7 separate regions of the Homo sapiens genome follow, and all the other regions are linked to region 1. Evidence: promoter capture Hi-C in 16 types of primary human blood cells and fetal thymus (Javierre and others, 2016). All regions are on one chromosome and are shown on one strand. The core of a region is centred on a gene start or on the middle of the fragment in contact, and the rest is flanking DNA. Distances in the headings are between cores, read along the strand shown.

Region 1 (3,480 bases), core at 26-2,525:
TGCAGATTAAAACTTTACAATTTTCAACGTCAAACTGCAATATGATAAAGCAACAATATTACTTAAACTGTTTATGAATATTTTTTCTCTAACAATCCAAGTCAACTTCATATAAAACACAAAGTTTCTGTACCAGCAAAAATACAAATGCTAATGAAACTTGGGCTTCTAAGGTATTATTACAAATCAGACTTAACTGTCTTAGATTTCATAAGCTTAACCCAATCCACAGCACGTTAATATACCCAATGAAGCAGTCTTAAGAATAACGCTATAGTGTGACACATGGGGAATTACCAAAGAACAACTTAAAGTATACTGACACAGGGAGAAATAAGCGGTTCTGATGATTCAAAGTTACACTCGTCTCACAGACCTAGTAATGACGCTAAAGGGAACTTTAGTGACACACCCAGCGCCGACCGCCACGTTAAGGATACAGCTCTTCCGAGGTGGAGAGGGCTCTCGCCAGCTCTGACTGCTGCTGAACCCGGATCCTGCTCCTCCTCCCAGAGGAGGTCTGCACCCCGGCTTGCCTCCTCGCTCACCCACTCCTCGCCCCCGACTCCAGCGACTCCCACCCCGGTAAGGCCTGCCTCGAAAGCGGAAACGGTCCAAGGCGAGGTGGCTCCGCTCCCAGAAAGACGGCCGGGGACTGCTTTCGGACAGTGAGCTCGAAGGCATCCGTACAGAAGGCGGATGAGACCGGAACGGTTCTTTGGGTCGGTAGCTGCTGGGTCCCCTGAGGTGGCCCCGCTCAGACGCGTGCCGCGAGCGTGAGAAATTCCTCAGCTGCTGCTGAGAAGAGGACGATGACGAGGAAGAGCCACCGCCTCCGCCAGATCCACCGCCCCGGGCCGAGTGAGGAGGCCTTCGCCGCGGATAGGGTAACAGCCCGCCGCCGCTGCTGCTGCTGCTGCTCCGACTCCGTATCTGGCTGTTATTATCGTCGTCACTGATTTCCCCATCTTCAAGCTCCCCTTCTTCCTTCGGCGAGAGGCCACTGGAGGCCGGGGCCGGAGTATCTGCGGTCGCCATCCGGGGAGCAGCGCCTTCCACACAACCTTAGCCCTCCGTCCGGGGATCCGCCCGACAATTGCCTCGTTTCCCTTCTTTCCTAACGGACTGGGTCGGTGCGGTCTTACCCTACTCGGACACCAAGCGGCCTCTGCTCCCCAACTTCCCCGCACCCCAGCACCCCAGCTCTCTCTCGCCGGACCGTCGCAACCCAGTTCCCTTTCCTAGCGCCCCCTTGCTCCTCAGCGATCGGGGTTCTTCCGCCTCGCGAGAAAGGGACTCTGGTAGCGGCTGTACCCGAAACGTCACTTCCTGCGACACGCAGGAAACAAAGGCTCCCAGTTCACGCGATAATAAGACCAACTCGATACTCACTAGGATTTGTAGTCTTTCGTCTTTCTTCGGGTTTACTCTTCCGGTCCTAGGGTCACACCCACCGCAGGGTCTGGCTTGGTACAGTTGGGTGCATGCAGAAGTAGGTGGAGCTGCTGTTGCAGCCTTGAGAGAGTTTTATTGTAAAACTCTTGTAATTTATAGTAATCGGAGGGGAAAACACCTCTTCCTTTTAATTGCTCTGAGGACCGCTGCCAAAGAAACGCAGTAGATCCGCTCCCTCTTGGGGGCGGGGAGAAAGAACGGGTTGTGTCCGCCATGTTGGTGAAGTCAAGCGAAGGCGACTAGAGCTCCAGGAGGGCCAGTTCTGTGGGCTCTAGTCGGCCATATTAATAAAGAGAAAGGGAAGGCTGACCGTCCTTCGCCTCCGCCCCCACATACACACCCCTTCTTCCCACTCCGCTCTCACGACTAAGCTCTCACGATTAAGGCACGCCTGCCTCGATTGTCCAGCCTCTGCCAGAAGAAAGCTTAGCAGCCAGCGCCTCAGTAGAGACCTAAGGGCGCTGAATGAGTGGGAAAGGGAAATGCCGACCAATTGCGCTGCGGCGGGCTGTGCCACTACCTACAACAAGCACATTAACATCAGCTTCCACAGGTAACCTGGGCAGGGAGTGGGGGTGACGGAAACTGGAGTTCCTATTGTGGCTATCGCTTGTGTGGAAGGAACAGGAGGATTCTGCTAATTCTAATAACTTTCCCAGCTGGTAGCAGGGAAGCATCGTATGTCCTTTGTGTTTCTCAAATCTGCCCAATTGTTCTCTGCTTTCGGGGAAGCTTTACTCATTTTCTAAAAGAAATCCAAGTACTGTTTGGTCATTACCCCTTAGTAAAAAAAAGTAACAGGAGGATATCGTAATTTTCTACTGTTTTATTCCTCTGTTAGACCGGGCCTTGACATGAATGACGCCGTAAGGGAGAAAGAGATCTTCCCAATCAGCAATCACCGTAAAAGCCTGCTGTGTTCCCGTTAAAATTAGGAAATTCTCACTAGATGAATTGACATGGGAGGCATTTAGATTTCTAATAGTCACATAGTAATTCTGCGGAGGAATTGAGTCATCTTTGATAGCCATGGAATTAAGCGATGTTAATTAAAGTGCAAAAGATAACCTTTCTGTTCTTACTAGAATAGAGTAATAAAAAGAACCTAGGTTTTCTTTTGTTTGCTGGAAGAAAAATCAAAATTCTTTAGTTCTGTCAAACCAGAACTCTTGAAAGCACTTTGAACAATGCCTGGAAAATAACAGGTACTCTGTAAATGTTTACCTTCTCTGCAAGTGCCTGCCACGTGCCCGAAGAAAAGACACATTAAAAAGTTAAGTGACACCAGTCCTGATTTTATATATTTTATATACCTAACAACGTATATGTTAGTATGTAGAAATTATATCCTTGACCTTTTTCCCTACCTATTACGAACTGTACTTTTATTAAAAGCTGCCACTTAAAAAAAATCTTGTGATGTTTCTGTTTTTAAACTAGTTCATGCATATGTAGTGCTTTGTTCATTCATCCATCAAATATGTACGGAGTTCCTAATTACCTGACATTGTGCTAAGGATCCAGAAAGTTCTAACCCTCCTGGAATTTAGAATTTAATGGTGGAGAAAGACATAAATAATTAAGTGCCACAGAAGAAACATTCAGAGACCTAACTTAGTCTTGGAAAGTCAAAGAACACTTTTTCAAAGGATGTGACATTTCAAATGAGACCAAAGGATGACAGATTGGGTCCTGTGTGCTACTTAAGTATTTTCTGTTTTATCCTAAGAGTACTTGAGAAACCATGGAGGGTTTAAAAAAGAATGGCACGATTAGATTTGCATATTGAAAAGTCCTCTGGCTGCAGTGTAGAGAATCGTAGTGTTACTGAAAGTGCTGGTCAAGCATCATCGGGAATGAACTTGATGAGAAAGGAACTTATTACAGAATATTAATTTACCTATTTTTTTCCTTCACAGGGAAATCTTGCTACAATGTCAACTAAACTAAACCCTTTACTCAGTTGCTGGCACAATCAGCATTGAATTAGGGAATGTGTGAGCTGACAGAGAAAAACTAGTTAGG
Region 2 (3,235 bases), core at 40-2,539, 4.9 Mb after region 1:
TTTGTCTTAAATATCCCTTGAGGAAAATTTGGATAGTAAAGTATAAAGAGAATATAGGATTCTGTTTCTAGAAATATCAAGGACTAGTTCACACTTGTCACACTGAAAACAAAATCCCTGGAAAAAACATTTTTTAAATCTTATTAAATATATTGATTAACTGACAATAGGGTAAGAAATTATTAAGTTAAAAAACTAAATGAAGGCAGGAACCTAGAGTTTAGCAGAGTCAGCCAACTTTTATCTCAAGGGCATGTGCTAAACCCAGTTACTAGGAGCATTGGTTTTCGTGACCTTGTAAGAAAGACACAAAACCCATTACCTGCATTATACACACACACACACACACACACACACACACACACACACAAACAACTGCAATTCCAAGGATTATTAATTTGATGTAAGGATATACTAGAAATAAACTTGCTGCTTACTAGCATAGGCACCCATCCCCCAGAATCTACAAAGAAAATTAGCCGTCTTAAACCTTGGCACCTGGTGGACAGGGGAAAAGCAAAATCGTATCTGAGAATTTGGAACTGCAATCCAATTCTCACACAAAAACGTAGCTTGAATTCATACTAGCTGGGTGGTCCCCAAAAACTTCAGGCTAATAATTAAGATTTTTTTTTTTTTTTTTTTTTAGACAGGGATTCTCTGTCGCCCTGGCTGGAGTGCAGTGGCATGATCTCAGCTCACTGCAACCTCCGCCTCCCAGGTTCAAGCAATTCTCCTGCCTCACCCTCCCGAGTAGCTGGGACTACAGGCACGTGCCACCACGCCCAGCTAATTTTTTTATTTTTAGTAGAGACAGGGGTTTCACCATGTTGGCTAGGCTGGTCTCGAACTCCTGACCTCGGGTAATCCGCCCACCTCCGCCTCCCAAAGTGCTGGGATTATAGGCATGAGCCACTGTACCTAGGCGTAATTATGAATTTTTGACTGATAATGCTCTCAGAAACCTGGCAGAAGCAAATACCAATCCTCTCTGGAGGAACCCACCTTCATCTTAAGCCATAAAGAATGACTATAAATAAAATTTTAAGGAAAATGAGCAGCTCACATTTAAAAAAAAATAACAAGCACAGAATAAGACACCATTCGTGAGAAACAGTACAGACTTAAGACAGCACAAACAAATTTTAAAAGACTTCAGATCCTGGATTTACAAGTCACGGACTGGGCCAGGTGTGGTGGCTCATGCCTGTAATCCCAGCACTTTGGAAGGTCAAGGCAGGCAGATCACTTGAGGTCAGGTGTTTGAGCCCAGCCTAGCCAACATGGTTAAACCCCCATCTCTACTAAAAATACAAAAATTTCGCCTGTAATCCCAGCTACTGGGAAGGCTGAGGCAGGAGAATCGCTTGAACCCGGGAGGTGAAGGTTGCAGTGAGCCAAGATCGCGCCACTGCACTCCGGCCTGGGCGACAGTGAGACTCCACCTCAAAAAAAAAAAAAAAAGGGGTCACAGACTGTAAATAACAATATTAAATATGAGTAAAGGAATAAAAGACAAGTTTGAAAATATGTGCAGAGAACAAAAAACTAAAGTAGGAATGAAGATTTTGAAAAAAGCAAATAGAACTAAAAGAGTTGAAAAACATAAATGATTAGAATAAAAACTCAGTGGACAAATTTAGTAGTTCATTTGACACAGCAGAAATACAAGCCAATGAAATGGAAGATAAAGATGAAGTTAAATGCAATAAAAAAAGAAAACATAAATTAAAAATATAAAAGAGACTTTAAGTGACATGGAGGACATTGTAAACAGCTCTAAAATCTAATTATGACTTCAGATGAAAAGGAAAGAGCCAGTGGGCCAGAGGCAGTATTTGACAAGATAATGGTTGTGAACTTTCCAGAACTGATGAAAGACTCCAACTCACAGACTTAAGAAGCCTCCCAAATCCCAAGCAAGTTAAAGAATAATAAAACCACGCTGAGATATATCACAGTGAAACTGTAGAACACCAAAAACAAAAAAGAAAACCTTAAAAGCAACAAAGAAAAAATATAGTTAATCTTCAAAGTGTCAGGTAAATGACTTTTCATCAGAACCAGTGAAAAACAGAAGACAGTGGAATAATATCTTCAGTGGACTAAAAGAAAATGACTGTCAGCCTAGAATTCAGTACCCAGTGAAAAAATTATTTCAAGAATGAGGCCAAAATAAAGGAATTTTCCGGCAAGCAAAAGCAGAATTTGCCGCTAATAGAGTCTCGCTAAAGGAAAGTCTAAAGAAATTTCTTTTTTCAGACAAAAAGAAAATGATCCCAGGCCAGGCACAGTGGCTCACGCCTGTAAATCACAGCACTTTGGGAGGCTGAGGCAGGAGGATCACAGGAGTTTGAGACCAGCCTGGACAACATATTGAGATTTTATCTCTACAAAAAATTTAAAAGTTAGCTGGGCATGGTAATGTGTGCCTGTGGTCCTGACCCGGGAGGCTGAGGTAGGAGGACTGCTTGAGCCCGGGAGATCAAGGCTGCAGTGAGACATGATCACACCATTATACTCCAGCCTGGGTAATAGAGAGAGATCCTGTCTCAAAAAAAAAAAAAAGAAGAAGAAGAAGAAAATCAACTCAAATGGAAGGTCTGAGAGTTGATAATAAACGAAGAGCATTAAGAGTGGTAGATATTTGCCTAAATCTAAATACAATTGACAATGCAAACAAACAGTAAGTATTGTTAAAATTATTTTAATAAGTTTTTTTAAAGAAAAAAAAATCACATATCTAACATTAGAAATAGACCCAACCAAATTTGCATTTTATGCCTACTATTAGACCTCATTAGACAAAGTATTTTACAAACTAGTACTATTATCTCCATCTGATACATACCTTTTATTTTAAAAGCAAAAACATGATACATTTCTTCTTTTCTCATCCATAGAGGCAAATTGTATTAATATATTATTGGTATTCTCTTTTTAAATAACAGCATTTTAAGTGTTTTTCTTCACAATGACATTCTTATTTCAAATTTACATAATGTACCAGTGAAGATGATGTATTACATAATTAGACTAAGAAAGTAGCATATATTTAGGAGATCATGATTTAGAGTAATAAAAAGCAGAATTATATACTATTTTCACTTAACTATGAAGTATTAATGATTCCCTCCATAGAAGTCTATAAATGAAAGTTCATCATAACAAATTATATAATTATGTATTCACAGGTTAAAGACAATTAAGTCTTATTGAAATGCTCTGCCTACCC
Region 3 (3,220 bases), core at 696-3,195, 4.4 Mb before region 1:
AATGTAAATCTGATCATTGCATTTATTCCCCATCTGTAACCCAGTTGTTTTTCAGTAGCTTCCCACTCTCTTAGAATAAAGGCTAAAATCCTGATATGGTCTACAAATCCTTTAAATTCCTGGCCCTTGCTTACCTGGCACTAACTTCCTCCTGCTTCACCGTAATTTTGCCTACTCTTTATTTATTTTTGAGACAGAGTGTCACTCTTTTGCTCAGGCTGGGGTGCAGTGACGTGATCTTGACTCACTGCAACCTCCACTGCCCGGCTTCAAGCGACTGCCGCCCAGGTTCAAGCATTTCCCCTGCCTCAGCCTCCCAAATAGGTGGGATTACAGGCATGTACTACCATGCCTGGCTAATTTTGTATTTTTGGTAGAGACGGGGTTTCACCATGTTGTCCAGGCTGGTTTGGAACTCCTGACCTCCACCTGCCTAGGTCTCCCAAAGTGCTGGGATTACAGGTGTGAGCCACCATGCCCAGCTCCTACTCTTCAGATCAGTCTTTCCTGACACAACCCGCAGTTCAGTCTAGGTCATGTTACTTTGTTTATATGATAGTGCTTTCTTGTTTTGGGATGAATCTCACTCTGTCACCTAGGCTGTAGTGCAGTGGCTCAATCTCGGCTCACTGCAACCTCTGTGTCCCAGGTTCAAGCGATTCTCCTGCCTTAGCCTCCCAAGTAGGTGAGATTACAGGTGTACACCACCACACCCAGCTAATTTTTGTAATTTTAGTAGAGACAGGGTTTCACCATGTTGGCCAGGCTGGTGTCGAACTCCTGACCTCAGGAGATCTGCCTGCCTTGGCCTCCCAAAGTGCTGGGATTACAGGCGTGAGCCACTGGCACCTGGCCCCATAGTGTTTTCTTGATAACACTTTCCTTCATAGCATTTATCTTAGTTCTTAGTTCTACAGGTGCTTACTCATACATGCAATTTAAAAAGTTAATATGCCTTTTACTAGACTGCAATGTAAGCTCCAAGACAGCAAGAATTGTGTGTGCTTTGGTTAGCCCTTATATCAGCAAAAACTAGTACAGTACCTGATATGTAGTAGGTTCTTATTACACAGTGTATGAGTATATAACGCCATTCCCATTTTGACCTCAGCCTATATTCCCATCATCTTCCTATTAGGTTTCTGTGCTCCACATACTGAACTGTTTCCTTAGTCCTTCACTCTGAGGTGCTCTGTCCTTCCCCACCACCAAAAAAAAAAAAAAAAGTAATTTAAATTCCAAACCAATTTTTCCCATGCAAACCCCTGTTCATCCTTTGAGATCCAACCTAACAGTCAACTCTTGGGTGTGATAATTTCCATATGCTCTTGAGTAGTGTTTTATAAAATGTATTGAGATCTGTGCCCTTAGCACCATACCTAAAAGAGTAAATGCTGAAGAGACATGGACATGCCATGGACAGCTTTCAAACTGGTCAAACAGCTTCCTTAATAAGATTAATAGTGTAAATTTTTAATACCACATTTATAGAAGGAATAAATTATTCCCAGAACTTTGTGATTTCAGGGTCACCATTTAAAAGCAACTCTTGGTATTATAATAATCTACTTTTTCTGCTTTTTAAAAATATCTATTGCTAATTTTGATAGTGCTCATTTCAACTTTTTAAAATATTTAACCATTAATCATAGATTTTTGAAAATCAGTAGGCTTCTTTATTACAATATAAGTAAGCTTCTTGATGTTAGGGGGGCCAAAGTGTATTCAACTTTTATCTGTCCTGATTTCTTAGTCCAGAGTTTCTTACATAATAGACAGTGAATAAATAAACAATAAGTAAAGAATGAATTTGTGCCGGTAGAACCATACAGGACCATAAAACAACTTTTTACTTGGGATTATGTTTTTCTACTTAAATTGATGATCCCTGTTTTCTCTGGAAGCAGGTAACTGGCACTGCAGTGGTTCTTAGAGGTCATAACTATTATGGTTATTTAATGGATTTTGTTTAAGTAAAACAGTTAAGATTTTTTCAGTACTTTGTGTGCAGGAGTGCCTGCATTAATGTGTTATGCAATTTTTCCACTTTCCAGAATATTAATGAAAATTAGTCATGTAGTTTTAATTTTGTTTTGTCACATTATAAAATGGGTGAGGGGCTTCCAATTAGGAGAGCTGTGTCCATTTTTTAAAAGTACGTGCTTAACTGATCTTGTATTGCCCTAATGCAAATATAAGCTTTTTTAAAAATAAGCAGTTTTACAGAACGTGGTAAGAATTAAACTATTAGGTTGGTGCAAAAGTAATTGTGGTTTTTACCATAATACCTACTTGCATGTAGTGTAAAACTTTGTCAGATCAGCATTAAATGAACGTACTAGTTATTGGAATTATCCTTAAAATTGCCTTACATGTAATGCATTTCTAAATTATTAAGTTGTTTTGCCAACCTTTACCACACAGTTTATTTCCCATGTTGCGGACTATCTCCATAGCTGTTTATCAATTCAGCTCCAATAGTTGTTTTTTTGTTTAAACATGGATTTTGACATTTCTCTGTAGTGTACAAAATAACGTATTTTTACTAAAACTGTATCTGGTTCAAATAAAAGAAAAAAGTGTTAACTAGTTATCTTAGTTGGATTGCTTCTGTAAGTGGAGGGGAGCCAAGAATTATGGGACAAGTTCATTTGACTTTTAAGGAGGTCTTAGGGCTTTATTTGAATGTGATTATCTCATATTCTGAGAAATCACTTTTAAAACAATGAATTGTTTGGTAAGGCATGTGGAGAAGAAAATCTGAGATGCCGTTTATACCTTATTTTACCTGAGACTCTATTTATCTTGGCCACCATTCAGTCCTTTTCATTTAAAGCTGAGATTAGATGATTGATCACTCTGGGTTTTTGCCAGGCAACACACTGTTAAACCTTCCTTTGGCAGTGGTTCTTAAGGGGAGGGGAGGTGGGCGATGTCAGGGGGAAGAGCTACTTTTTAGAATCACCTCTTCACTATTTTGAAAATAAGCCTGGTGGCTGGGCACAGTGGCCCCTGCTTGTAATCCCAACACTGTGGGAGGCCGAGGTAGGTGGATTCCCTGAGGTCAGGAGTTCAAGACCAGCCTGGGCAACATGGTGAAACCCTAAAATACAATAATACTAAATTATTTTTTATAAATTATTTCTTATAAATTATAATTATTATAAATAATACTAAATTATTATTTTTGTATAGTAAATACTAAAAATACAAAAATTAG
Region 4 (3,400 bases), core at 266-2,765, 4.4 Mb before region 1:
ATTTTTATGCATTTGTACTTGTGACACACTCAGGGCTTTGCTCACATCGACTCAATCATCTAGGAGGACAGGTTAAAATTAAGATATGAAATGTGGAACTCTACCCAGACCCGTATGGGGATTTGTTTGGAAGCAAGCTGTTTGTATACATTTGTATTTGTTTGTATTTGTGGCATCCTCAGGGCTTTGCTCACATCCAACTCTGTCACCTGGGGGGCCGTTTTGTGATATTTGTGTTTGTATGGGCCCTGATCTCTCTCTTTCCCCTTCTTCCAACTTCATCCTCTTGATTATCTTGGAAGCTACCCACAGCCTTACTCCTCTGGGCCCAAAGCACCCTTAACTCCCTCTGGCTGGAAATGGCTCACCTTGACTGGCGACTTGTGGAGGTGGGAGATATTTGTCCCACACCATGTAGGTCTGGGGTGCTAAGGCTCTCCCTGATGGAAGATAAATATGGGTGGGTTGGGGGTACTGACCCCACACCCACAGTAGCTGAAAGGCTCACAAGCCCTCCTGTAAAACTTGACCTCTTTCCTCTCCATTCCTTTCTTTTCTCTTTCCCTTGTTCTGTTCAATCTAGGGGTCTAGCCTTGAAAGGGAAAAACAGTTTCCAACATTCTGGCCTCTAATTTTGTCGTTCTCTTTGAAACTCCAAGTGGTTACATATTATGGCCCATTTCTCTGCACATTTTAAACTGATAGACAAATTACAACAAAAAAATTCAAAGCTCAAAGAGTGAACCTACACTATAGAGTTAAATAGAGTCTTATAAAACTCTATCTTTCTTTTTCCTGCCTGCTTTAAATCTACTGTTACTAAACTGCTAGTACTGAGAGAAGACTCATTATTTATGGCCTAACTACAATATAAACATTAAAACTCATTTAAAGTATATATTTTAAAAAGGTTTTGTTAAACCAAACTGCCATAAAGACTACTTTACCCCAGATTTTGGTTCACAGCCTTGCTTAGATTACCTAGCAGGGCAAACCAAGTTTAGCCATGTGAACAGGTTCCAATTTTATCAAAAAAATAACCTAAGAGTCACCTATCTTTTATATGTCCGTGAGTTGGTGGTGCTGTCTCATGACTAGAGCTCCAAGGTAAAAGCTATTGAATCTTTGTGTATGTACGTATACATGTTTAGCTATGGATACATAATATAATAGTTACATTCTGTCTTGTGTCTAACATACTACCAAATTGACATGTAGGTAAGTGAATACTCATAAATTAATCCCGGCTGGGTGAAGTGGCTCATGCCAGTAATCTCAGCACTTTGGGAGGCTGAGGAAGGTGGACTGCTTGAACCCAGGAGTTTGAGACCAGCCTGGGCAACAGGGCGAAACCCTGTCTCTTAAAAAAATATAAAAACTAGCTGAGTATAGTGATGATGCCTGTAGCCCCAGCTACTCTGGAGGCTGAGGTGAGAGGATCACTTGATCCTGGGGAGGCTGAGGCTGCAGTGAGCCATGATCACACCATTGCACTGCAGCCTGGGTGACAGAGTGAGATCCTGTCTCAAAAAAATAAAATTAAGCCCAAATGCTTTACAAGTTCACATGCACCTTTGATAAATAAGCCTGCCTTAAAAATTATTAACAAAATAACATTTAAAATGTTTAAAAAACTATTAACATATATTTTTGTTTGAGTTTATTGATTAAATGGTTTCATATTCATCTCTGCCAAATATTATTAGGTGTCAAAATTTGGCATAAAAATTATAAAAGTATAAACCCACCCAAAACCAAAATATTTTTGCTTATATAATTTTTAATAAATGAAACACTTAATATTGAATAAAAGCAACTAAATCTTCTAAATGATCAACAAAATGTCCATGTGTTTAACGTTTAAATTCTTAAACACCTTATGTTCATAAACTTTGAAATAGTTAAGAAAAAAATAACTTTAAATCATGACCATCCCTATATAATGTTTTCAAAAGTAATCTAAATAAACAATTAAAATAAAAAATTGAGTATGTATGAGATAAATGCTTATAAGTAAAACTTTGTACATAATTTAAAATCTTAAAATCATTATAGATGCTTATTAAATGTCTGTGCCATTTCCAATTAAAAAATTTATTATATGAAAAACATATTCCAAAATTGTAGAATGGTTCTCATCTATAAAATGCTAAAACTTGGCTGGGCACAGTGGCTCACACCTATAATGCCAGCACTTTGGGAGGCCGAGGTGGGCGGATCACGAAGTCTGGAGTTCGAGACCAGCCTGACCAACATGGTGAAACCCTGTCTCTACTAAAAATATGAAAATTAGCCAGGTGTGGTGGCATATGCCTGTAATCCCAGCTACTCAGGAGGCTGAGGCAGGAGAATCGCTTGAACCCAGAAGGTGAAGGTTGCAGTGAGCGGAGATGGTGCCACTGCACTCCAGCCTGGGCAACAGAGCACGACTGTCTGAAAAAAAAGCTAAAACTACTAAAAAACAGTTTTACATACAAAATATACAAAAAATATATTTAAAAAATTAAATCTGCTTTTAGTAAAAAGTTATAAATGGTATAAAAATACAATTTTTTGGCCGGGCGCAGTGGTTCATGCCTGTAATCCCAGCACTTTGAAAGGCCGAGGCAGGTGAATCACCTGAGGTTGGGAGTTTGAGACCAGCCTGACCAACATGGAGAAACCCCGTTTCTACTAAAAATACAAAATTAGCCAGGTGTGGTGGTGCGCACCTGTAATCCCAGCTACTCGGGATGCTGAGGCAGGAGAATCGCTTGAACCTGGGAGCTGGAGATTGCAGTGAGCCAAGAATGTGCCATTGCACTCCAGCCTGGGCAGCGAGAGCAAAACTCTGTCTCAGAAAAAAAAAAAAAAATATATATATATATATATATATATATAATATATATGTATATATGATTTGTGTTAAAAAATATAATTTTGTCTAATCCAAAGAGTTTTAAAAATTACCTTAACAAAACAAAATTAAAAATTTAAATAAATATAAAAAATTTGTAAAGAGTTCATCTTATTTTAAAAGTTCTATAAGCATAAACAAGTTGACTAAAATTTAAAGGGAATTATTTAGTTTCTCCATAGGTTAAACATTAAAATAAAAATATACTAATCCAGGGCCAAAATATGGGACCGTGTGTCTAAATAACAGGGTTTTCTCAAAAAATTAATCTACTTTTTAACAAAAAATTATAGTTATAAAAATTTTATAAAAATTTTACCTTACAATCATTATAATTAAACAGTTTTATTAAAAATTGGGTTTAACATTAATAATACACAAATACAAAAGTAAAATTTACCTTTCTCTTTTAAACAACACTTTCATATAATATTAAAAACAATAAAAGATTTTTATTTGCCTTTTAAATAAGCAACAAATAAAGAAGAAAAAAAGAGACATGCT
Region 5 (3,404 bases), core at 723-3,222, 4.9 Mb after region 1:
GGGTCCTGGAACCAATTCCCTGCTTATAGCAAGAAACATCTATATTTTCTGCATAATCAAAATGTCAAGGAAATGCTAATTTCTACTGTTTACTATTAACCTCTATTAATGAATTATGAAGAAGCTCCTCCAAAATAACCAAATAAACAAAATCTTGCTAGTTAAAATGCATGTTAAATTTATGTTAAACAATCAACCTCTTAAATGGATCTCTGTTTTTACAGAGAAATCTTCCCTCAGTAATGACAGGGTATTTTTTTAAATTCCTACAACCTAATCATAAATTCTTGGGAAAATAATAAGAGCCATCATTTCCCAAATAATCAAATATTATAAAACATTCAAAGTATTATCTATATAATGCTGAAGATTCTATTTTCTAGCAGCATTATTAAGGTATTGCTGACATATAAAAAAATTGTACATATTTAAGGTGTACAATCTGATGTTTGAAGATTCTATTTAAAATTTCAGGGATAGCAAAAAAAAGTATCAAAATTATAAACATAATAGAAGGAATAAAGGATTCAATCGGTCAACAAGAAATTAATCATGACAACTGATATCTGAGAGGGAAAATGTTTAGAATACCTGTAAAAAATAAAGCATGAGGTATATAACCACTTGATTCTAAAAGTTTCTTGATCTAAAATCAAGAGCTAGTTTCACAGAATATAGAGAAAGGTAACAAGATCATCAGTAATCAGTCCACTACATTAGAAAATATTTAAAACTTTGACTTCCTGGACAATGAGCAAATTTAAAAAAAATGTAAAGGGGCCAATTATTTTCTAAGCTACTTTAAATTTCAAACAAGTACAGTATTTACTATGAAAGTTCTATAATACCTTATATAATCAGGCCAAATTTGGGGATTTAAGCCTTCCAAATCACAACCCCTCTGACAGGATTTTCAACTTCAAAGTAGTCAGCATTTTTTAAATCTGGCGTGTAAAAACCTCTGACTGCAGGAGAATTACGACTCCAATTACAAAAGACACACATTCCAATAGTCAAAACCATAGCTGTAGAAGAAAGAACTTCAAAATCTTATGAGAAAAGAATTGAAAACGATTAAACAAGATTAAGAGCAGAATTAAACAAGATTTGCATTCTGCCAATGCAGAAATATCACAGAAGAGAGGGAAATTAGATGAATGTATTTAAATTTATTTACCCAGGTTAATTTACAATAGTATTCTAAGCTCAATCAATATGGAGCCTGAAGATTATGAAAAGGAGTATGGGAAAAGAAGTAAAAGACAAGTTTAAAACAATGCTAGGAACAAAAAAACAAAAAATACAAAACAATAAAAAAGAATAAAACAATGCTAGCAAATTTTTATGAGTAGAAAATGAAAGGAACAAATGAAAATTAAGGCTTCCAATGAACTTGCCAGGCAATCTAAACTCAACATTTAAAGTACCAAAGATAACACAGAAGACAAGGAAAAGCAATGGAGGAAAAAATATCAACTACTGAACCAAAGTAGCTATCACACATGAGGCAGAGAAGTAAATGAAAAAGAATAACCCCTCACCCATCTAGATACACTTGAGAAACAGAACAAAAGACTTCCAAATAATTAAAATGCCACAAGGGTCATGTGTTTAAAGCTAAAATGCCATTCCCTGGAGCAAAGTCACTATTTTACACACAATTCTAAACAGTTTCATTCAGTTTCCAAGTAGCAAACAAGAAATGGCAAGATAATCATAACAACATGCAAGTTGGGGTAGGGGACAACGAAAGGGGAAACAAAAACTATGAAGCAAGCAAGAATTCAGAGTTCAAGTTTTAGGACCAAGCGGCATAAAGGCACAAACAACTATACAAATCAATAGTGAAGGGACATAAGTGTATTTTAACACTGTATCATGATCATCATAATTTCTATGAATAAATCTGCATTAACAAAAAAATAGTTCAATAGGCTCTGTTTCTTCTGTTTATGAAGCTAGAAGAAGACTTCTAATAAAAGATGGGGCGCTAAATACAAACTTTCCCTTCAGTTACTCCAGATACTCCACTGAAATAAAAACAACTCATAAAAGAAAGAAAATCGTAACAGTAAAGAAATTAAAATTGAGGCTAGAAAGAAAATCCAACAAATTTCTGGGAAATGAAAGTATATGTGAGATTGATAGAAATAACAAGCGGAAAAAGCCACAGCCTCATTATAACCTTTAAGAGTGACATGGAAAGGATGGGAACCAATACGTCTGAGAAGATCCCCAGGAAAGCATGATTATAAAGTAAATGGTACAGCAGAGGGTGGAAATAAATAGTAGGGTTAAAAATAAGAGAACTGAGTATTACTTGACTAACTATAAGGGACAGCTATATCTCCCATCCCCTATTTCCAAGCAGTTTCTAAACAACTGACATTTTACCTCCAGGCAAAAAAACAAGTCAGCTTTTCCCTAAAGAAAGTGAACCACTATCTAGGGAAAGCTAAGCGGAGGTGTGGCACAGAGTAAACACATCTCATCCAGCATTTAAAGGGCCCATACATAGCCTAGCAGCTAGCTCCTCTCTCTTTTACCCTAAAACAATCTGCCAAGAGACAGATCCTACTCTGTACTACCTTGCCCCACAAAGTGCTCTGGCCAGAATTCCTACTCAAAGAAAAAAAAATCTAATAGGGAAAACAGTCCAAGGAACAGGGGAGGGAGGGTGACCAGGAACCTAGTCTGTCTTTCTTAACCATGAATGGACAACCAAGAATTATCAGGCACATAAGGAAAACTGAGCATGAAAAAAGAATGATTACAAAAACAAACATAAAAACTGACCGGAGGAGAAAAGGAGATAAATTAGACACAAGGAGACACAAGGTATCTTTAAAAAAATCTAATTTGCACATTCTAAGACTCAAGACGACAATACAACATAGTGTAAAAATGGTGGGAAAAGAAAAAGAGAACAACAAAACTTACAGATTACCCCCAGGAAAATCAGCCAAAATACTAAAGGGGAAAAAAAACCCACAAAATATAAAAGATGAGAGAAGGAAGATCAAGACAGAAAGCAACTGCCTACTGAAAAGCAAAAAACATGATGAAGGGAGGAAATTATTAAAGACAGAGAAGAGTTTCCTGGAATTGGAAAAATAATCTGATTCAGACTGTAAGAGCAACTGAGTATCTAGACAAACAGCCAAACAAAACAAAAATGACCTATACACCTCATTATGACTTTGTAGAAGATACAAAAGAACGGATTCTAAAAGTTTTCAGACAGAATAAAGAACAAATCACCTTAAAAGGATAGTGAATCAGACTGATACATGACTCCTTCTTTTTTTCTTTTGAGACGGAGTCTCACCCAGGCTAGAGTGCAGTAGTTTGATCTCGGCTCACTGCAACGTCCACCTCCCAGGTTCAAGTGATTCTCCTGCCTC
Region 6 (3,292 bases), core at 193-2,692, 4.4 Mb after region 1:
TGGGAGGTGGAAGTTGCACTGAGCTGAGATCATGCCATTGCACTCCAGCCTGGGTGACAGAGTGAGACTCCATCTCAAAAAAAACAAAAACAAAAACAAAAACAAAAAATGAACAACAAAAAAATTTTAATAATAAATGAAATAAAGTTTAATATACATTTACTATATGACACAGTAATCCTTCTACTGAGTAGTTACCCAAGTGAATTGAAAACTTATGTACACACACAAACACACACACGTATACAACTTTATTTCTAACTGGCAAAACCAGGAAACAGTCAAGATCTCTCTCTGCAGGTGAGTGGATAAACAAACAGTGGCACATTTATACGATGGAAATAAAAAGAAAGGAGCTACTGATTCTGAGGTAGGAGGCAGGACTTGGCTCCAGAGGTGGGGTTTGGACATCAGGATCAAATTGAGGACTAGCTAAAACAGGTCTAGGGTGGAAGCACCTCTCCATAAGACACACCCACCAGTGTGCTTGTCAGTTTACCATTGCCATGGCAACACCTGAAAGTTACCACCCCTTTCCATGGCAATGACCTGGAAGTTACTACGCTTATTCTAGAAACTTCTGCATAACCACCTCTTAATTTACATATAATTAAAAGTGGGTATAAATAGGACTGCAGAAGTGCCTCTGAGCTGCTACTCTGGGCACACTGCCTGTAGGGTAACTCTGCTCTGGCAGGAGGAGTACCTTTGCTGCTGCTGTACCCTGCCACTTCAATAAAAGTTGTTATTTAACACTGCCACTCACCCTTGAATTCTTTCCTGGGCAAAGCCAAGATCGCTCCAGGACTAAGCCTCAATTCTGGGGCTCACCTGTCCTGCATCAATTCACTCAACAACATGGATGAAACTCAAATGCATTTTTGCTAAGTGAAAGAAGTCAGATTCAAAACTCTATATATTACAATTCCATTTCTACAGCATATGTAAAAGGCAAAACTATGAAAATAGAAAGCATCAGTGATTGCCAGGGGTTGGAGGAGAGGTGCAGAGTTGACTCCAAAGGGGTTGTAGAGGGGATTTTTTAAAGATAATGGAATTGTTCTATATTTTATAGGTAGTGGATATATGACTATATACATTGAGCAAAATCCATTTGCTATATTCAATTTTTCAGAAAATCAACCAGATGTTGGGGGATCCTAGGATGAGATGCAGACTGTGACAAATTAATCTAACTGAATTATAAACATATAATCTCACTGAGGGGGTGAGTAAAAAAGGAGCTGACTTTCGAAAACAGTATTTTGACTGGACACTATAAGGCTAAAGGCAAAAAGAGCTACACATAAACATTGCACTATAGTTGATAAATTTATTTATCAAAGAGATAATAAGCATTAGCAATTTGGAAACTAATTTCCCTGTATACTAGGAAATCTGTATTCGTTTGCTAGGGCTACCATAACAAACTGGGTGGCTTAAGCAATACGATGTATTTTCTCATAGTCCTGGAGGATGGAAATCCCAAATCAAGTTGTTAGCAGAGTTGGTCCCTTCTGAGGGCTGTGGGTGAAGGATCTGTTCCAGATCTCTCTCACTGGCTTGTAAATAGCTGTCCTCTCCCTGTGCCTCCCTCTATGTGTGTGTCTGTTTGAATTTCCCTTTTGTATAAGGACATCAGTCAGATTAGAACCCACCCTAATGACCTCATTTTAACTTGATTATCTCTGTAAAGATGCTATCTCCAAGTAAGGTCACATTATGAGGTACCGGGGTTTAGGACTTCAACATATGAATTTTAGGATAACACAATTCAACTCCTAACACTAGGGTTTGGCAAATAACTAAATAATTGTAGATAATGGGAGCCAGGTCTCTTGCTACTGGGAAAAAGTCACAAATAAGCAAGGAGAGAAGGCTAGAATGAACCATGGGGTGCTGGATTAGGGTCAGAGATAGAGGTATGAATGAATTCATGCTTATAGATAGATGATAGATGGATGATAAATAGATGGACAATAAAGATGTATATATACATAGGCTAATATATTTCCTAGCTTTGCCCACTGAGGAAGCCTAGAAGCAATGTGATATAGTTTGGATATTTGTCCCTGCTCAAATCTCATGTTGAAATATAATTCCCAATGTTGGAGGTGGGGCCTGGTGGGAGATGTTTGGGTCATGGGACAGAATCCTTCATGGCTTGAGGCTGTCCTCACCATAGTGAGTGAGGAATGAGTTCTCATGAGATCTGGTAAAATGTGGTACCTCCCCCACTCCACTCTGCCAATGTTATGCTTGCTGTACAGGCTGCAGAACCATGTGGCAACTAAACCTCTTTTCTTTATAAATTACCCAGCCCCAAGTGTTTCTTTTTCTTTCTTTTTTCTTTTTTTTTTTTTTTTTTGAGATGGAGTCTTGCTCTGTCACCAGGCTGTAGTGCAGTGGCATGATCTCAGCTCACTGGAACCTCTGCCTCCGGGATTCAAGCAATTCTCCTGCCTCAGCCTCCCAAGTAGCTAGGACTACAGGCACACACCACCATGCCTGGCTAATTTTTGTATTTTTGTATTTTTAGTAGAGTCAGGGTTTCACCATGTTGGCCAGCATGATCTCGATCTCTTGACCTCATGATCCACCTGCCTCGGCCTCCCAAAGTGCTGGGATTACAGGCATGAGCCACGGCACCTGGCCAGGTGTTTCTTTATAGCAATACAAGAACAGCCTAACACATAGTGACACCACAGTAACAACAAGCATGACCAGTTCACAAATCTTAGTTTCTAAATACCATTTCCAATTAAAGGAGGGAAAACGCAAGACGAGTCTGGAACATCTTATAGTGCTAAAAAAAAAAAAAAAAAAAAAAAAGAAAATTATAAAAGTAGGAGAGAGGTCAAAAGGACACCAGAGGCAATTGGAAAGAGTTCCCCAGTGGCCAAAGCTGGAACAATTTCAGCAAAAAAACAAAAACAAAAACAAAAAAACCCAAAAAAACCAACAAAACAGTGATAGTATTGGATTATAATTCAGAGAGTAAAATAAATATCCATGAGTCCATAATGATATAAGTATTATTGAATAAATACTTAAGTGATAAAGGGAGAAATTTATCTTATAGAAGAATTCTAGGCTTGGCGCAGTGATTCACGTCTGTAATCCCAGCAACCTGAGATGCCAAGGCAGGCGGATCACCTGAGGTCAGGAGTTCGAAACCAGCCTGGCCAACATGATGAAACCCTGTCTCTACTAAAAATACAAAAATTAGCTGGGCACTGTGGCAGGTGCCTGTAATCCTAGCTGCTCAGGAGGCTGAGGCATGGAGGATCGC
Region 7 (3,291 bases), core at 633-3,132, 4.4 Mb after region 1:
TTATAAAGAAAATTATTCTTCCTAATGTATCTAACTCTGTAAATATTTTGTATTTGTTATAAATAATTCCTAATAGTACTGATGAATTTTTCTAGTGATGCTGGGTAATGAGTCAGCATTTACAAAGTGTTTAGCAATTATGAATATTAATCAAAAATAAGAAAAATACTGAACTCTGACATCAAAGAAATCCAAGTAGGATTCCAGTTTGTCTACCACATCATCAATAACTTCTTTTTAATACAGGGAAACCTGTAGTGCACATGCATCCTTATTTCCAGCTAGTGTTCCCGTATCTTTTCTGGAGAGCAACCTGACAATAGGAATATCAAAAGCCTTAAACATGTCCATCTCAGCCAGGCACCATGGCTCACACCTGCAATCCCAGCACTTTGGGAGGCCGAAGCAGAAGGACCGCTTGAGGCCAGGAGTTCAAGACAAGCCTTGGCAACACAATGAGACACTGTCTCTTAAAAACATAAAAATTAAAAAAACAAAATATGTCCATCTCCAGATTTATTCACTTATGAGCTCTACCATGAAAAAATTATAAAGAATCTAATGCCTTTGCTTTCCATGTTCACCTAGAAGGTTCTTCCACAGCTCTGAACAAGTCCTGCACATCCTTTGGCTCTCATTTCAAAGTTTCACTCCCCAGAGATGCTTTCTCCAACCTGCACATTCCGGTTAAGTAAGATTTCTTGGTTGTACACACACTCCTATAAAGCTTTCTTTTCTTTCCACCATAAGATGTCTCAGTCTGTAATTATAAATTAGTTTGACCTATGGTCTGTCTCTCCCAACTGACAAAATTCATGATTACAGGAATTAAATCTGATCTTGACAATCATAGCGTTGTCTTCTTTGGGGTAGCACACAAAGCTTATTATAAACTTAGTACTATAATGGAATATGCAAAAATGGAATGCTTTGCAGTCACAAATGAAACAGATCTGAGTTGATATGAAGGAACACTAAAGCAAGGTATAGGATGTATGCCGAAATCCCCTTTGGATATGGAAATATATATATATATATATATATATATATATATATATATATATATCTCCACTCATATACGCACATACTTTAATACAAATAAACCCTTTCTGAAAACAAACACCAAAAACCTAACCAGAGTAACCTAATGAGAAAGAAGGGACTGGGGGTAATGAGAACTAATTTCCCATTCACCATTACAGTCATGTGTGGATTATATGTTCTGAGAAATGTGTCTCTGGGTGATTGTATTGTTGTTCAAACATCAGAGTATACTTACACAAACCTAGATGGTATAGCCTACTACGCACCTAGGCTATGATATAGACTATTGCTCCCAGGCTACACACCTATACAGCATGTGACTGTATTGAATACCATAGGCAACTTTAATATAATGGCTAAGTATTTATGTGGTGCATGACTGCATTTGGTTTTCCAACACACAGATTTATATAATAATTTCCAATACACAAATTTATTCTGAGATTTGCTAGGTTTAATATATAGTGTCTACTAAACCCAGCAATTGTCAAAAACAGAAACAAAACCTAAAACTTCCAAATTTAAATTTTTGTAACATTTTAATGTGTTCACAGAATGGCTACACTGCTAACCTCAATGTCCATTTGCAGCATTACATTTACAGTTTAAATTCTTAAAATGAAACTTTAGTAAAGAGGATCCAAGACAGAACATTTACAGAACATTAACAGGAGGCATTTACTCCTCCAGAGAAGGCTGCTCTAACCTGCCCATTCTGGCTACATTGTATTTCTTGGTTGTAAGATAGACCTAATTTTCTAGTCAGTTGTAGTCAGATCATTTGGGCTGACATCAACTTTGTAGCAATCTACAAACTAAGACAAACAACTTCTGGCTCTATTTCATCATCTATATAAAGCAGAAAAACATCTGAGGAAGTGGGACCCAAAAATCTGCATTCTAAACAAGAAACTCAGCTTCTGAGAGGTGGTTCTCAGGTAGACCACATTGAGAAACACAAGTTTAGGTTAATACCTGTATTAATATTTTACTGCAGTTGACATTAAATAAAATCAGTGAGAATCTTATTTGTTATACATTAAATTGCATTCCAAGATCTCTGTGAAAAACTTTCATTCCTGAAAGCGACAAACTAGATTATGCAGATCAATTCTACCAATGAAAAATATGGCCGGACGCAGTGGCTCACGCCTGTAATCCTAGCACTTTGAAAGTCCAAGGCAGGCGAATTGCCTGAGCTTAGGAGTTAGAGACCAGCCTGGGCAAAATGGTGAAACCCAGTCTCTACTAAAATACAAAAAATTAGCCGGGCGTGGTTGCACACACCTGTAGTCCCAGCTACTCAGGAGGCTGAGGCAGGAGAATTGCTTGAACCCAGAGGAGGAGGCTGCAGTGAGCCGAGATCACACCGCTGCACTCCAGCTTGGGTAAGAGCAAGACCCTGTCTCAAAAAAAAAAAAAAAAAAAAAGGAAAAGAATTAAAAGTACAGATGTTTTTTAACAAAAACATTTTGTTAAAAATCTTAAAAGCACTGAAATGCTAACAAGATAGTAAGGAATCACCAGCCCAAAACTGAGGGCAAAACAGGAGCAGAAGGAAGGCACTTTTGCACTGAGGTCAACTGCCAATTATCAGCAACGTGAACTTTGGTTTTAACCAAAGTTAAAATTCTGGGCCTGTCCACGGTGGCTATCTTTATGGTAACCCTCCCAAATTAAGCAGGAACCCCAAAATGCTATATCCTCAAGAATAAATTCATTCTCCTGGACAAACAGCCCAAATTTACCTCATCTGTATTGCCCTCCAAACCCCAAGCTATGTACTTAAAATGATCTGTCCCTGGTATATTCAGACACCTGTATATCAAAATTAAATGAAAGCTTCCTTCTAGACCTTAAAAAATTCATACAAGTAATTTTCACAGCCAACAGGAAAAACAGAAAATATAACAGAAATCAATCCTACACAAAGACTTAAAAATTGTCAGACTATAAACAAATACATACCTACAGACATAGTAAGCCTGGTTGTCTTTGATCTAAGTTTGAAAACACACTGTCTGCAAGGAAGTCATCTATTAAAGGTGATATAACAAAATTTGGAAAACTAGAACTTCTAGAAATAAAACTAATGAATCAAACTAAATGGGCTGGCTTAAGAGTAAGATACACAGCTGAAGAGAGAATTAAGTGAGCTGAAATGAAGCCTAGAAGAAAACTTTGAAAATATGGCAGAGCCACAGAATCTAAAGGACTGAAAATACTGAAATGAAAAGACATGTTAAG

What was found. Contacts are between HindIII fragments. The CHiCAGO score rates a contact against its expected background, and 5 or more counts as called.
Region 2: a contact is called between a fragment that was not itself captured here and the fragment with the promoter of ZFC3H1 in region 1, in 4 of 17 cell types (activated CD4 T cells, non-activated CD4 T cells, naive CD8 T cells and 1 more). The highest score is 5.9, in activated CD4 T cells.
Region 3: a fragment that was not itself captured here is called in contact with the fragment with the promoter of ZFC3H1 in region 1 in 1 of 17 cell types (activated CD4 T cells); the score reaches 15.8 in activated CD4 T cells.
Region 4: a fragment that was not itself captured here is called in contact with the fragment with the promoter of ZFC3H1 in region 1 in 2 of 17 cell types (neutrophils and monocytes); the score reaches 11.4 in neutrophils.
Region 5: a fragment that was not itself captured here is called in contact with the fragment with the promoter of ZFC3H1 in region 1 in 1 of 17 cell types (non-activated CD4 T cells); the score reaches 5.6 in non-activated CD4 T cells.
Region 6: a contact is called between a fragment that was not itself captured here and the fragment with the promoter of ZFC3H1 in region 1, in 1 of 17 cell types (naive CD8 T cells). The highest score is 5.9, in naive CD8 T cells.
Region 7: a fragment that was not itself captured here is called in contact with the fragment with the promoter of ZFC3H1 in region 1 in 5 of 17 cell types (activated CD4 T cells, non-activated CD4 T cells, total B cells and 2 more); the score reaches 8.1 in activated CD4 T cells.

Annotation. Positions count from the first base shown.
Region 1 is chr12:71,662,573-71,666,052 of GRCh38, forward strand. It overlaps ZFC3H1 (zinc finger C3H1-type containing), which reads right to left and starts at 1,276. Exons shown (of 35, transcript NM_144982.5): 1 at 441-1,276. The coding sequence starts at 1,038. It overlaps THAP2 (THAP domain containing 2), which reads left to right and starts at 1,729. Exons shown (of 3, transcript NM_031435.4): 1 at 1,729-2,008. The coding sequence starts at 1,938. RefSeq lists enhancers at 899-1,018, 1,371-1,929, 1,379-1,738. The HindIII fragment of the contact is 1,665 bases long and covers 214-1,878 here.
Region 2 is chr12:76,563,631-76,566,865 of GRCh38, forward strand. All of the region lies in intron 2 of LOC105369850 (a long non-coding RNA gene), which reads left to right. Among named protein-coding and RNA genes, the nearest start is that of OSBPL8, 5.5 kb to the left of the region's middle. The HindIII fragment of the contact is 4,447 bases long and covers 1-3,235 here.
Region 3 is chr12:67,277,965-67,281,184 of GRCh38, forward strand. The region is part of intron 1 of CAND1 (cullin associated and neddylation dissociated 1); the gene reads left to right. Among named protein-coding and RNA genes, the nearest start is that of CAND1, 10 kb to the left of the region's middle. RefSeq lists enhancers at 15-516, 517-1,016. The HindIII fragment of the contact is 504 bases long and covers 1,694-2,197 here.
Region 4 is chr12:67,257,141-67,260,540 of GRCh38, forward strand. No RefSeq gene overlaps it. Among named protein-coding and RNA genes, the nearest start is that of CAND1, 11 kb to the right of the region's middle. The HindIII fragment of the contact is 5,325 bases long and covers 1-3,400 here.
Region 5 is chr12:76,546,124-76,549,527 of GRCh38, forward strand. The region is part of intron 1 of OSBPL8 (oxysterol binding protein like 8); the gene reads right to left. Among named protein-coding and RNA genes, the nearest start is that of OSBPL8, 12 kb to the right of the region's middle. The HindIII fragment of the contact is 5,207 bases long and covers 1-3,404 here.
Region 6 is chr12:76,092,052-76,095,343 of GRCh38, forward strand. No RefSeq gene overlaps it. Among named protein-coding and RNA genes, the nearest start is that of NAP1L1, 9.0 kb to the left of the region's middle. The HindIII fragment of the contact is 9,589 bases long and covers 1-3,292 here.
Region 7 is chr12:76,075,528-76,078,818 of GRCh38, forward strand. The region is part of intron 1 of NAP1L1 (nucleosome assembly protein 1 like 1); the gene reads right to left. Among named protein-coding and RNA genes, the nearest start is that of NAP1L1, 7.5 kb to the right of the region's middle. The HindIII fragment of the contact is 2,004 bases long and covers 881-2,884 here.